Regions from separate parts of the Homo sapiens genome. Here all the other regions are linked to region 4. The links are contacts of gene promoters, found by promoter capture Hi-C in blood cells and fetal thymus (Javierre and others, 2016). All regions are on one chromosome and are shown on one strand. The core of a region is centred on a gene start or on the middle of the fragment in contact, and the rest is flanking DNA. Distances in the headings are between cores, read along the strand shown. Region 1 holds the start of SNORA70G (small nucleolar RNA, H/ACA box 70G). Region 2 overlaps RAP1B (RAP1B, member of RAS oncogene family). Region 3 overlaps NUP107 (nucleoporin 107). Region 4 holds the start of IL26 (interleukin 26).

Evidence for each region. Contacts are between HindIII fragments. The CHiCAGO score rates a contact against its expected background, and 5 or more counts as called.
Region 1: a fragment that was not itself captured here is called in contact with the fragment with the promoter of IL26 in region 4 in 2 of 17 cell types (M1 macrophages and erythroblasts); the score reaches 5.8 in M1 macrophages.
Region 2: a fragment that was not itself captured here is called in contact with the fragment with the promoter of IL26 in region 4 in 1 of 17 cell types (M1 macrophages); the score reaches 5.1 in M1 macrophages.
Region 3: a fragment that was not itself captured here is called in contact with the fragment with the promoter of IL26 in region 4 in 3 of 17 cell types (erythroblasts, M1 macrophages and megakaryocytes); the score reaches 7.0 in erythroblasts.

The regions. Positions count from the first base shown.
Region 1 is chr12:68,624,518-68,627,454 of GRCh38, forward strand. All of the region lies in intron 1 of RAP1B (RAP1B, member of RAS oncogene family), which reads left to right. SNORA70G (small nucleolar RNA, H/ACA box 70G) reads right to left here and starts at 2,858; the gene lies at 2,717-2,858. It also overlaps the pseudogene RPL10P12. The HindIII fragment of the contact is 155 bases long and covers 1,450-1,604 here.
Region 2 is chr12:68,644,484-68,647,418 of GRCh38, forward strand. All of the region lies in intron 1 of RAP1B (RAP1B, member of RAS oncogene family), which reads left to right. Among named protein-coding and RNA genes, the nearest start is that of SNORA70G, 19 kb to the left of the region's middle. The HindIII fragment of the contact is 5,436 bases long and covers 1-2,935 here.
Region 3 is chr12:68,726,706-68,729,405 of GRCh38, forward strand. NUP107 (nucleoporin 107) reads left to right here. Exons shown (of 28, transcript NM_020401.4): 20 at 646-684. Among named protein-coding and RNA genes, the nearest start is that of SLC35E3, 18 kb to the right of the region's middle. The HindIII fragment of the contact is 2,047 bases long and covers 320-2,366 here.
Region 4 is chr12:68,224,426-68,227,271 of GRCh38, forward strand. It overlaps IL26 (interleukin 26), which reads right to left and starts at 1,385. Exons shown (of 5, transcript NM_018402.2): 1 at 1,161-1,385; 2 at 1,019-1,075; 3 at 724-858. The coding sequence starts at 1,331. The HindIII fragment of the contact is 7,284 bases long and covers 1-2,846 here.

The DNA of each region.
Region 1 (2,937 bases), core at 277-2,776, 400 kb after region 4:
GTGGCTCACGTCTGTAATCCCAGCACTTTGGGAGGCCAAGGCAGGCAGAGCACTTTGGGAGGCCAGGGCGGGCGGATCACTTGAGGCCAGAAGTTCGAGACCAGTCTGGCCAACATGGTGAAACCCCATCTTTACTAAAAATATGAAAATTAGCCAGGCATGGTGGTGTGTTCCTGTAGTCCCAGCTACTCGGGAGGCTGAGCAGGAGAATCGCTGGAACCTGGCAGGCAGAACTTGCAGTGAGCTGAGATCGTGCCACTGCACTCCAGCCTAGGCGACAGAGTGAGACTCCGTCTCAAACAACAACAACAACAAAAGCTCCTCGATGGAACCATTTGATAGTGACAAGGATTGAAGTAAGTATCTGAAGAGGCTACTTAGAAACTCAGAATTGGTTACAGGAAGTGACTGCCCACTTTCCATGTGTTCTTCAGATGCTCTGGTTATTCTAACAGCCTAGTTAACCACCCAGACTTTGGTTCTCATTGCCTTTATCCATTTGTTTGGTGTATATACTAATGTTCAACGATGCACACATAATGCATGTGATGTTTTTTGGATACCGTCTTATCACTTGTAGAATTGCCATGATAGGCATTTTTTGGAGCTACTTTAAGTACTTGCTGGCCTAGTAATTATGCAAGTAAGTAATTAAGTGTTTATTCATATGTGAAAGCCCAATGTAAGCATTATTTATGTCTTTCAGTGAAGTGTGGTGTGCCTTTCATTTTTCTGAGTGGTCTTTATTTTATGGAATATTAAATGGATCTTTGAATAAACTCAAGAGGGTAGATTATAAAAGGAAGAACTGTTAAATTAGTCAAAAACAACTTTATAACACAATTAGCTGCATAAGCCAGTGCGTGCGTAAGCAGGTAGTATAAATGCTTAGGTTGAGATACTAAAATTATTATTAGAGAAAATTACAGGAAGTACCTATGCTCCCACTATGTTTTGTTACTTGGTTAATTTTTCTCCTCTGAACTTCTGGCAGGTTTACTGGGGAATTTTCCATTAGGAATATTCTGGTCCTTAAGTTTCATTTTGAATGTATAATATAATCATGCAGATTACGAACCCACAATCTAAAATCAAGGCATTCTTTTTTAAAGTTTCAGATGAGGCTGGGTGTGGGGCTCATGCCTGTAATCCCAACACTTTGGGAGGCCGAGGCGGGTGGATCATGAGGTCGAGAGATCGATACCATCCTGGCCAGCATGGTGAAACCTCCCCGTCTCTACTAAAAATACAAAAATTAGCCGAGCGTGGTGGCGCGCACCTGTAGTCCTAGCTACTCGGGAGGCTGAGGCAAGAGAATTGCTTGAATCCAGGAGGCAGATGTTGCAGTGAGCCAAGATCGTGCCGCTGCACTCCAGTCTGGCGATAGAGCGAGACTCTGTCTCAAAAAAAAAAAAAAAGTTTCAGGTGTATTCAGGAGTGGTCATATTAAGCTTGTCACCTGATCCTGGTTATGAGGTTAACAGCAAAATGAAATAAAATATTTTTCTGAGCCATTTGTTTCTCCTCTCATGGAAGACACTAATTCTGTTTATTTCTATATTCGGCCTTGTGTTGAAACAGACTGTAAAATCATGTTTTAAAAAAGCTTCACCCATCCTTGTGGAGGGTGGTGGTTTGCAAAAGCACCACCCCACTTAAGCATTTATATTGAGAAGATATTTATGGCATTCTTCCATTCATGAAAATGGGTATGCTTTGTTCTGGAGTTCTTACCTTGATTTATCTACTAACACTAAAGTTCCTCACTTCCAATTTCTTATACCTCTAACCCAACAGCTTATAAACTGCATGTAGTATAGTATTTGCTTGAAATATGTGAAAGTAGTTATTTTCCCTAACTAATAGGGATATTTCTGTGGTGGTTGTAGTTACTTTGCAACCTGTTCAGCAAATATTATAGGGCGTTTTTGATGGTATCTTTAAATTTTGGACATAGAGAACCATCTTGGATAACCTCTTTCCCCCCAGTCTCAGTCATCCCTTTGGAGGTAGTGTCTCATTTTTAATCTGTGACTTGTGGAAGTTAAGGCATTTGAGTAGCTTATTTAAAGTATTAATAATCTGATTTCTGGAGATCTGAGGAATAGCAGACACCCTTTTCTGTATTAAATTGGGGAAATTTATTTTATAGGCAAAAAGATGAATAAAATGGTCCTAGTAGACAGCCCCTAATATTTCTGGTCTCGGGTAAAGGTCTTAAGGAAGAGGGAAGGTAGTATCAGAATTTTCCAGGGTGTTTTTTTTTTGTTGTTTGTTTGTTTGTTTGTTTTGGGTGGACAGGAAGTAGAATTTATTGGTGAGTATTAAGAGGGGGCAGCACAGTGGAAGCCCTCATGAGTGCAGGGCCCGCCACTTGTCCACAGGGCCACGATTGGAAATGTACTTGACCCGACAGCCATCTGGGATGAGCCGCTTCTCAGTCACCATGTCTTCAAACTCATTGGCATTGAACTTGGTGAAGCCCCACTTCTTTGAGATGTGGATCTTCTGGCGGCCAGAAAACTTGAACTTGGCCCTGCGCAGGGCCTCAATCACATGCTCCTTGTTCTGCAGCTTGGTGTGAATGGAGATGATAACTTGGCCAGTGTGAACCCTGGCCACAGTGCCCTGGGGCTTCCCAAAGGCACCTCGCATGCCTGTTTGGAACCTACACTGGGGTAGTGCAAGGTCAGAAACATGAACATCCATCTGAAAGGACTGTCTCCAGGGTCCCTTAGAGCAACCCATACAATACAACACACAGGCTGCATACACTACCAAGGAAGCTGCTGTTTGCAGCCATTGCACACTGGGCCCCCCCATGAGGAAAGGAACTCAGTTGGCTTAATAGGCTGCAGCAGGGTGTTTTTTAAAACACACAAATATACCCAATCCCTACTAGAATGAGAGATTTTACTAATAATAGTGTTAGGAGTA
Region 2 (2,935 bases), core at 264-2,763, 420 kb after region 4:
TGAGGCAGGAGAATGGCATGAACCTGGGAGGCGGAGGTTGCAGTGAGTCGAGATGGCGCCACTGCACTCCAGCCTGGGTGACAGAGCAAGACTCCATCTCAAAAAAAAAAGTCGAGCAGTGATTCTCAACTGAAGGAATAGCAGTCCTCTTTAGTGTACTGAGTGGCAGCTCAAACCATTGTTACTCTTATTTTAAAAGTTACTTTTTTTTTTTTTTTTTTTTGAGATGGAGTCTTGCTGTGTCGCCCAGGCTGGAGTGCAGTGGTGCGATCTGGGCTCACTGCAACCTCCACCTCCTGGGTTCAAGCAGTTCTCCTGCCTCAGCCTTCCGAGTAAGTAGGATTACAGGCATGTGCCACCACACCCGGCTAATTTTGTATTTTTAGTAGAGGCTTTGCCATGTTGGCCAGGCTGGTCTTGAACTTCTGACCAGCCTGGTCCAGCTGGTCCAGTGATCCAACCGCCTCGGCCTCCCAAAGTGCTGGGATTACAGGCGTGAGCCACCACGCCTGGCCTGAAATTTATCTTTTGTTGACGAGTATGTGCAAGGTGTTGTGTCAGTGACTCTGAAGAATTACTACATTTCTTTCCTTATTCTTTCTTTAATTTATTGATCACATATTTCAGGCACAGTTTCAGGTTCTGGGAATATGGCAGTGAGTAAAACAAAAAAAATCCCTATCCTCATGGAGTTTACATTCTTTGTAATCCATCTCACAACCTTATCATGTAGCTGTTACTATCTTAATTTTACCTGGAAGGAAAGTGAGGCTCTGAAAGGTTTCGTGACTTGCCCAAGATTATAGAAAACCACAATTTGAAACTTAGGTACCATTAGCCACTATGCTGTGCTGTCAAAATTGTCCCCCCATGGGGTTCTGTGAAAGAGAACAATTAGTCTCAATGTCTCAAATAGTAGTTGTCACAAATGTCTTTGAAAATCTGATGTAACTATTCCCATTTTTAATTGTGCATGAAATTTTAGGGAATTGACATATTTCAAAGTGCTCATTCTTAACCTGAGCTAAGGACTTCAGGAAAAGAACACTTGAACAGAAAGGTTATGCCTAAAGATCACAAATACGCTATACAAATAACAGGTGCTACAGCTCTTTCCCAGTCCCTACCAGCACCACAAGCCAATTATGTTGCTTATTGAACAGAGTTGTCTTTTCTGCAAAACTAGATGCAACCACACCATCCTAAAAACAGGATAATGGCTGTTGCCAGTCAGTCAGAGTTGGCATTCGCAATAAAAATCTGTTTTTCAGTCTTTTCAAGGCTGGTGTAGTAGAAAGCACAGATTTGAAAAATACTGATTCAAATCTTGACTATTGTACTGTTGGGTTTTTTTTGTTTTGTTTTGCTGTTTAAGGTAACAGAAATACCCTGATAATATCCCCAAACTGGAAATCAGCTGGTGTGAATGGGTAAAGAAAATATCATGTATTCATGTGGTATATTTTAATCAACAGTAATAAATAAAAGGAGCAAGTTACTGATAGATACAATAATATGGATGAACCTGACTCATTCTAGCAACAAATAATAATGCTCATTCATGGATAAATGAAGCAGCTGGGAAAAAGAGTCCCAGTCACCTCACTAAGAAGTGTAGCTCCCACAGCCAACTCAGCCACCTTTGTGAAATAAGAAAGGCATACGTCTCTTAGAAAAATCACCTCTGATAAATGTATAGTTTTTATATTCAGTATTTTAAAATTGTAGTTTTTATGTTGTTTCGGTCAGTTGTGTTATGTTTGGAGGTTTTAGTGAATATATAGTTATGCAGCCATCACTACAACCAGTTTTTGGTGTGTTTTTTTTTTTGAGATGGAGTGTTGCAGTCTCACCGGGGCTGGAGTGCAGTGGCACGATCTCAGCTTACTGCAACCTCCACTTCTCGGGTTCACTCGATTCTCCTGCCTTAGCCTCCCGAGTAGCTGGGATTACATGTGCCCACCACCATGCCCAGCTAATTTTTGTACTTTTAGTAGAAACGGGGTTTCACCATATTGGCCAGGCTGAACTCCTGACCTTGTGATCCGCCTGCCTCAGCCTCCCAAAGTGCTAGGATTACAGGTGTGGGCCACTGCGCCCGGCCCACTACAACTAGTTTTTAGAACACTTCCATCACCCCCAAAAGGTTTCCTGTGACTATATGTAGTCAGTCCCACTCTCACTCCCAGTGGAGGAAGGGTGGAGAATTGGATGCTCATATTTCCTTTGGAGCAGCAATAATGAACAGATTTGGGGTTATTGTACTTCCATTTGTTAGTGAACATGCAACATCAGTTCCTCCTGTGGCTCTGTTTGTACAAGTAGCCTCATCTGTGGGCTTGCATTTCTTCGAAAACAAAGACCTTTTTATTTAGTTTTTTCTAGTTTGTTTGTAAGACTCTGAAAATCTCAACCATTGTAGATTTTTTCGGATTACCAATTTTCCATTTTAGGTTTCCTATTTCAGACCTGAACCCATATACAAAAAGAAAGGCCATCTCTTTACTTTAACTGTTGGGTCTTTGCCAGAATACTTTTGAAAATTTCCTTAAATCAATTTTTATTTTGTATCCTATTGAATCTTTTTGAGACAGAATCTCACTGTGTTGCCCAGGCTGGACTCCAGTGGTGTGATCTCAGCTCACTGCAACCTCCACCTCCCAGGTTCAAGCGATTCTCATGCCTCGGCTTTGCGAGTAGCTGTGATTACAGGCGTGTACCACCACACCCAGCTAATTTTTGTCTTTTTTTGTAGAAACAGGGTTTTGAAGCCGGGTGTGGTGGCTCACGCCTGTAATCCCAGCACTTTGGGAGGCCGAGGCAGGTGGATCATGAGGTCAAGAGATCGAGACCATCCTGGCCAACATGGTGAAGCCCTGTCCCTGCCCCCCACTCCACTCCCCGCCCCCCCCCCCCCCCCCAAAAAAGGGTTTTG
Region 3 (2,700 bases), core at 93-2,592, 500 kb after region 4:
TTCTAGAAATGGTGATAAGGAATCAAAAGTCTTCCATATAGTCTTGTATAGTCACTCAATGATAACTCACTGAGAGTGGCCCTTTAGGGTTCTAGTCTGTGGCCACAGAATGCTGTTGGTTAACTGGTTTTTAATAAATTCATAACTTTATCCTTGTCTGTACCCAGCTTTAAATCAACCAGCTAAGCTAACTAAACAAAGTGAGTGCTATGTGAGATTTTAAAACTTTGTTGGTTGTTGTTTTGTTGCTTTTTTTCTAAAAAAGAAGATAACATTTTGGTCAGAGTGCATGTAGAAAGTGAATGATACAGTAGTTGAAAGCTTGGGCTTTGGAGTAGGAGTCCTGAGTATATACCCTTATTCAGCAGCTTCTATCTGTGTAACTCTGGGTAAATAAAACTTCCCTTGGTCCTAATTTCATCCTCTGTAAAATGTGAACAATAATAGTAACTACCCAAAAAGAGTTATGGTAAGGTTAAATCAGGCAGTAGATGAACTTTGGTAAGCACTTAGCTTGGTGTATAGTTACTGCTCAGTGGTAAACATTACAATTATTAAATTATTTAATAATGGAATTTGTATCAAAAATTTTGTTACTTTCATATAAGCAGTGTATTTATAATTATGTCTTTTTTTCCTATGAAGGAGGAAGTTTCTATTGAAGTTTTAAAGACATACATACAGGTAAACTTTGAGAACCTACAACCTGATTGTTTTTTACTATTTTAATGAAAACAAAACTCAGAATGATGCTATTTTAATTCTCAGTGGTAAGAAAGCATCAGAATCCATAAGAGATCTTTTAATTATCAGCACAGTTGACCTTTGAATAATGCAGGGATTAGGAAAACAACCCCCACCGCCCCGCACAATCAAAAATTCACTATAACTTTTGACTCCCCAAAAACCTAACTACTGATACCCTACTGCTGACCAGAAATCATACCAATAACATAAACACACAATTAACACATTTTGTATATTACATGTATCATATGCAGTCATCCCTCAGTATACTTGGGGGATTGGCTCCAGGACCCCCACATATAACAAAATCTGTGTATACTCATGTCCCACAGTTGGCCCTGCAGAACCTGCATATACGAAAAATTGGCCTTCCATATTTGCAGATTTCACATCCAGATAACACTGTATTTTCTAAGTTGAGTTGAAAAAAATTTATGCAGAAGTGGACCTGCACAGTTCAATCCCGTGTTGTTCAAAGCTCAACTGTACTGTATTCTTATGATAATGTAAGTTAGAGAAAAGAAAACATTACTAAGAAAATCATAAGGGGCTCGGCGAGGTGGCTCATACCGGTAATCCCAACACTTTGGGAGGCAGAGGCGAGAGGACTGCTTGAGTCCAGACGTTTGAGATCAGCCTGGGCAACATAGGGAGACCCTTCTCTCTACTACAAAAAATTTTTTTAAATTAGCAGGGCACAGTGGTTCATATCTGTAAACCCAGCTACTCGGGAGGCTGAGGCAGGAAGATCGAGTGAGCCCAGGAGTTGGAGGTTGCAGTGAGCTGTGATCTCGCCACTGCCCTCCAGCTGGGTGACAGAGTGAGACCATCTCAAAAAAAAAAAAAAAAAACAATCAGGCCAGACGTGGTGGCTTGCGCCTGTAATCCCAGCACTTTGGGAAACAGAGGTGGGTGGATCGCTTGAGCCCAGGAGTTCAAGACTAGCCTGGGAAACAGCGAAAACCTGTCTTTTTTTTTTTTTTTTTTTTGAGACGGAGTCTTGCGCTGTCACCCGGGCTGGAGTGCAGTGGCACCATCTCGGCTTACTGCAGCCTCCGCCTCCCAGGTTCAAGCGGTTCTCCTGCCTCAGCCTCCCGAGTAGCTGGGATTAAAGGTGCTGGCTAATTGTCTGTATTTTTAGTAGAGATGGGGTTTTGCTATGTTGGCCAGGCTGATCTTTAACGCCTGACCTCATGATCCACCCCCCTCAGTCTCCCAAAGAGCTGGGATTACAGGCGTGAACCACGACACCCGGCCTGGACCTGTCTTTTTTTTTTTTTTTAAGTTTAAAAATTAATAAATAACTTTTAAAAGTTAAAAAAAGAATAAATAATAAAAATCATAAGGAAGAGAAACTACGTTTATAGTACTATACTGTACCTGTTAATACTGTAAGTTTATGTTGTCTGTTTACAAGATGAATTGTCTATTTGAAATGGACAACCACAGTTACAGACCTCAATCTACAGTATATCAAGCAATTCACCTTTTTCTTGTAATCTCATGACTTTTCTCTGCTTCTTGGGAGAACTTCCAGTATCACTACTGGCACTTTGTATGGCTCCTGTGGTGTTATTAAGGGTTTATAGTATTGCACTAAAAAAAACAAGACCTGGGAAAGCTTACTTTTTATTGCAGTATGCAACTGAAGAGACCAACAGCTCTTCAGAGATGATTAGCATCACACGGCATTTTAAATGGATACTCACAGCACTTGAGCTCACCCCAGTAGTGGCAGGAAGTGGCTCTAAAGTTATTACAGTAGTATAGTATCTACTACAGTTAGTTGTATGCAGTTATGATTTAATACTGCATCTGTATGCTTGTTTACATTTCTCTAGACCACAATGTATGGTCTGTAAATGTGTGTACGTTTTGATAAATTTTAACTTTTTATAATAGATTCATATATATTTTATAGTAGTAAGTGATAAAATAGACCAGAATCTACAT
Region 4 (2,846 bases), core at 135-2,634:
ACCATACTGAGGCATCAAATAATTTAGGTACCAAAGAAGGCATGTCTATCCCTTTTTAAGTTTTTTACTGAGATTATGCCTTAAAAGGGGCACAAATATTTTTTTAAAAACATAAGTAAATAAGAAAAAGGGCATCAGTTAGTTATTATTGTTATGGGAAAGAAGGAAGGAAGGAAAGAGAGAGAGAAAGAAAGAAAAGGAAGTAAAGAAAGAAGGAAGGAAGGAAAAGAAAGAAAGAGAGAGGGAGGGAAGGAGGGTGGAGGAAGAGAAAGGGGAGAGGGAGGGAGGGAGAGGGAAGGAAGGGAGGGAGGGAGGGAAGAAGGGAGAGAGGGAGAGAGGGAGGAAGGGAGAGAAAGAGAGACTTAGAATAGTGTTTGGCACAAAGTTGGTACTCAAGAAATATTAAATGGATGAATGGATTACTTGGGAATCACATAATGAGAGAATGATTTTAAAGTATTTATTTGAAAACCATGTCATGTTACTTTAGCTCTCTTCAGTGTGTTTTATGAGCCATTCTTTAAGAAATAATAAATAGCAGCATTCTGAGTAATGTACAGTTATTTAATGCTATTTCCCTGGTGATGACCTCTCCATTTGGACTACAAGCCAACAATTACAAAGCTCGTTTTACTCACCCTTTGGTGTGAGACAGATTCTTACATGCTGACTTCTAAACAGGTTTCTAGGATCAAATGCACAGTATTTGTTGTGTATACTTACACAGTGGCTCAATTTCTGCCTAAGGCTATGAAAGTCCTCCACAAAGCGTATTTTCTTGCAGCCTTGCAATTGCAGTTGACCAAAAACGTCTTCCATGAAGAAGGACAGAAGCTGTTCTTGAAATTGACAGTTTTTCTAAAAATAAGATACAAGAAATTGCATATGGTAAATTATGAATCGTTTTTTAATGTCCCCCGATCATTACTTAATTACTCTCTGAAAAAAATTTAAATGCAGGGGGAAATAAACATCAAATAAGTGGAAATGTAAAAAAGAAGAAGACTTTCTGACTTACCATAAACTGCTTTTTTGTTTTCTTTTTTAATAATCGTATATTTTTTATGCGGTCTTCCTACAATAATACAAAGAGAAATAAGTTGTATCCAAGATTGTAAATGTCCTTGAGGTCATGATTTTAAGCAGAGCCTAATACTTACTGGAATCGTTGCTTTGAGCCATGCTGCTTTGATATAGAGAGCGTCAACAGCTTGGGACAATGTTCCCCTTGGGTAACAACTTTTGGTGAAGGAAGATTGCTTGTGCTTGGCAATGGCAAGAGACAGAGTGACTAACAGCAACCCACACCTCAAAATGAAATTCACCAGCATTTCCCTTCACCCCACTCAGCGTGTGTCACTCACAGCAGCCCAAGAGATACTAATGCCGGTTAGATGAGAGGATAACCTACTTAATGTAGCCCTCAAAGCCACCAGTCCAATGAGGTGCTGTGAAAGATAATTTACAGTTTATATAGAGGAAGATCACTTTGGTTGTTCTATTTTTTTAAGAGCTTGCTTCATAGTCAAAAAACGCTGATCACACCATCAACTGACATTATTTAAAAGCTCAGCCTTACTGGTAAGATTGCGTTCTCATTTCCAAAAGAATTCAGAATTTCAGTTGCCTATCACAGCAGCTTGCATTATTTTAAAAGGCATGCCAATAAAAACAGGATGATTTCCAGGGGGCTGTGTCATAATTTTTTAAACCCCATGTGAAAAATCTCCTTTTCTAACCAGAATCCCAGAAAAAATTTAACAAGGGGGTAGAAATGGGCAGCCCCAGGAAATCTGCTCACGATTCAAATGGGTCTTGTGTTTATTGCTTGCCACATCCTTCACCCAGCTTCCCCCAGAGGCCATTATTCTGCAGATAGCAGCGAGAACATTTCCAGTGCAGAAACAGTAACTCCCCTTAACATATTCAAGATATGTTTGGAACTGGACCTGGGACTAAGGTCCACAATGTAATAAGTTCTCTGTCATCTCTGTCCAAATTTACCACTCAGACTTTCCTTATAACTCCCAACTTCCAGGAGAGTGCAAATTCCTTGAAGAAAGAGACCGTATATTTTCACCTTTGAATACAGCATCTACCATGGCACCTCATCTAAAGAAGTGCATCCATTATTAATTGAGTAAATACTTTTGTCACATCATGACGTGCTACCATAACTGCTTTATTTTTTAAATTTCTTCCATTCACACATTTTTATTAAAGACTTGCCTACACAAAAACCAGTGCTAGGTATGAGGGAGCCACCAAGGAGGATTCTCCATAAACTCCCATCCTCATTTCTGTCCCAGTTCTTCCTAGACAGTAAATATGGCTCATTCTGGGTAGCAGCCCCAATATAAGAAGAGGGCAGCCCAGAGTCATATTCTGAGAAGCAGAGATAGGTCACTAAAGCCTAGAATGAATAGAGTTAATGTGTATCAGGGATAAGTCAACACTAGAAATCTGGTTGTGAGTTAAGAGAGTCATCAAAACTAGTCAGTCAATAACAAGCATCAGAACCCAAGACTAAATTCCAAATGAAAGCAAGCAGGGCTGTCAAAAAAACAAAAAAAAAACAAAAAAAAAACAAAAAAAAAACAACCAAGAAGAAAAAGGGAAAATAAGAAAAATGCTTGGACTGATGTCTGCTGTTTCAAAACATGAGTGGATCTCTTGGAAGAATCCAAGCCTTATTTCCCCAGGAGCAAGATCACTGGTAACGACACACCCTATCAATTGAGATGAGAACTATTCACAAAAAAACTATAGCAGAAGTCAGCTGACTGGGAGTGCTGAGTGAAGTTCACTGAAATTTTATGAAATTCAGAAAAAGAAAGAAGTCGTTT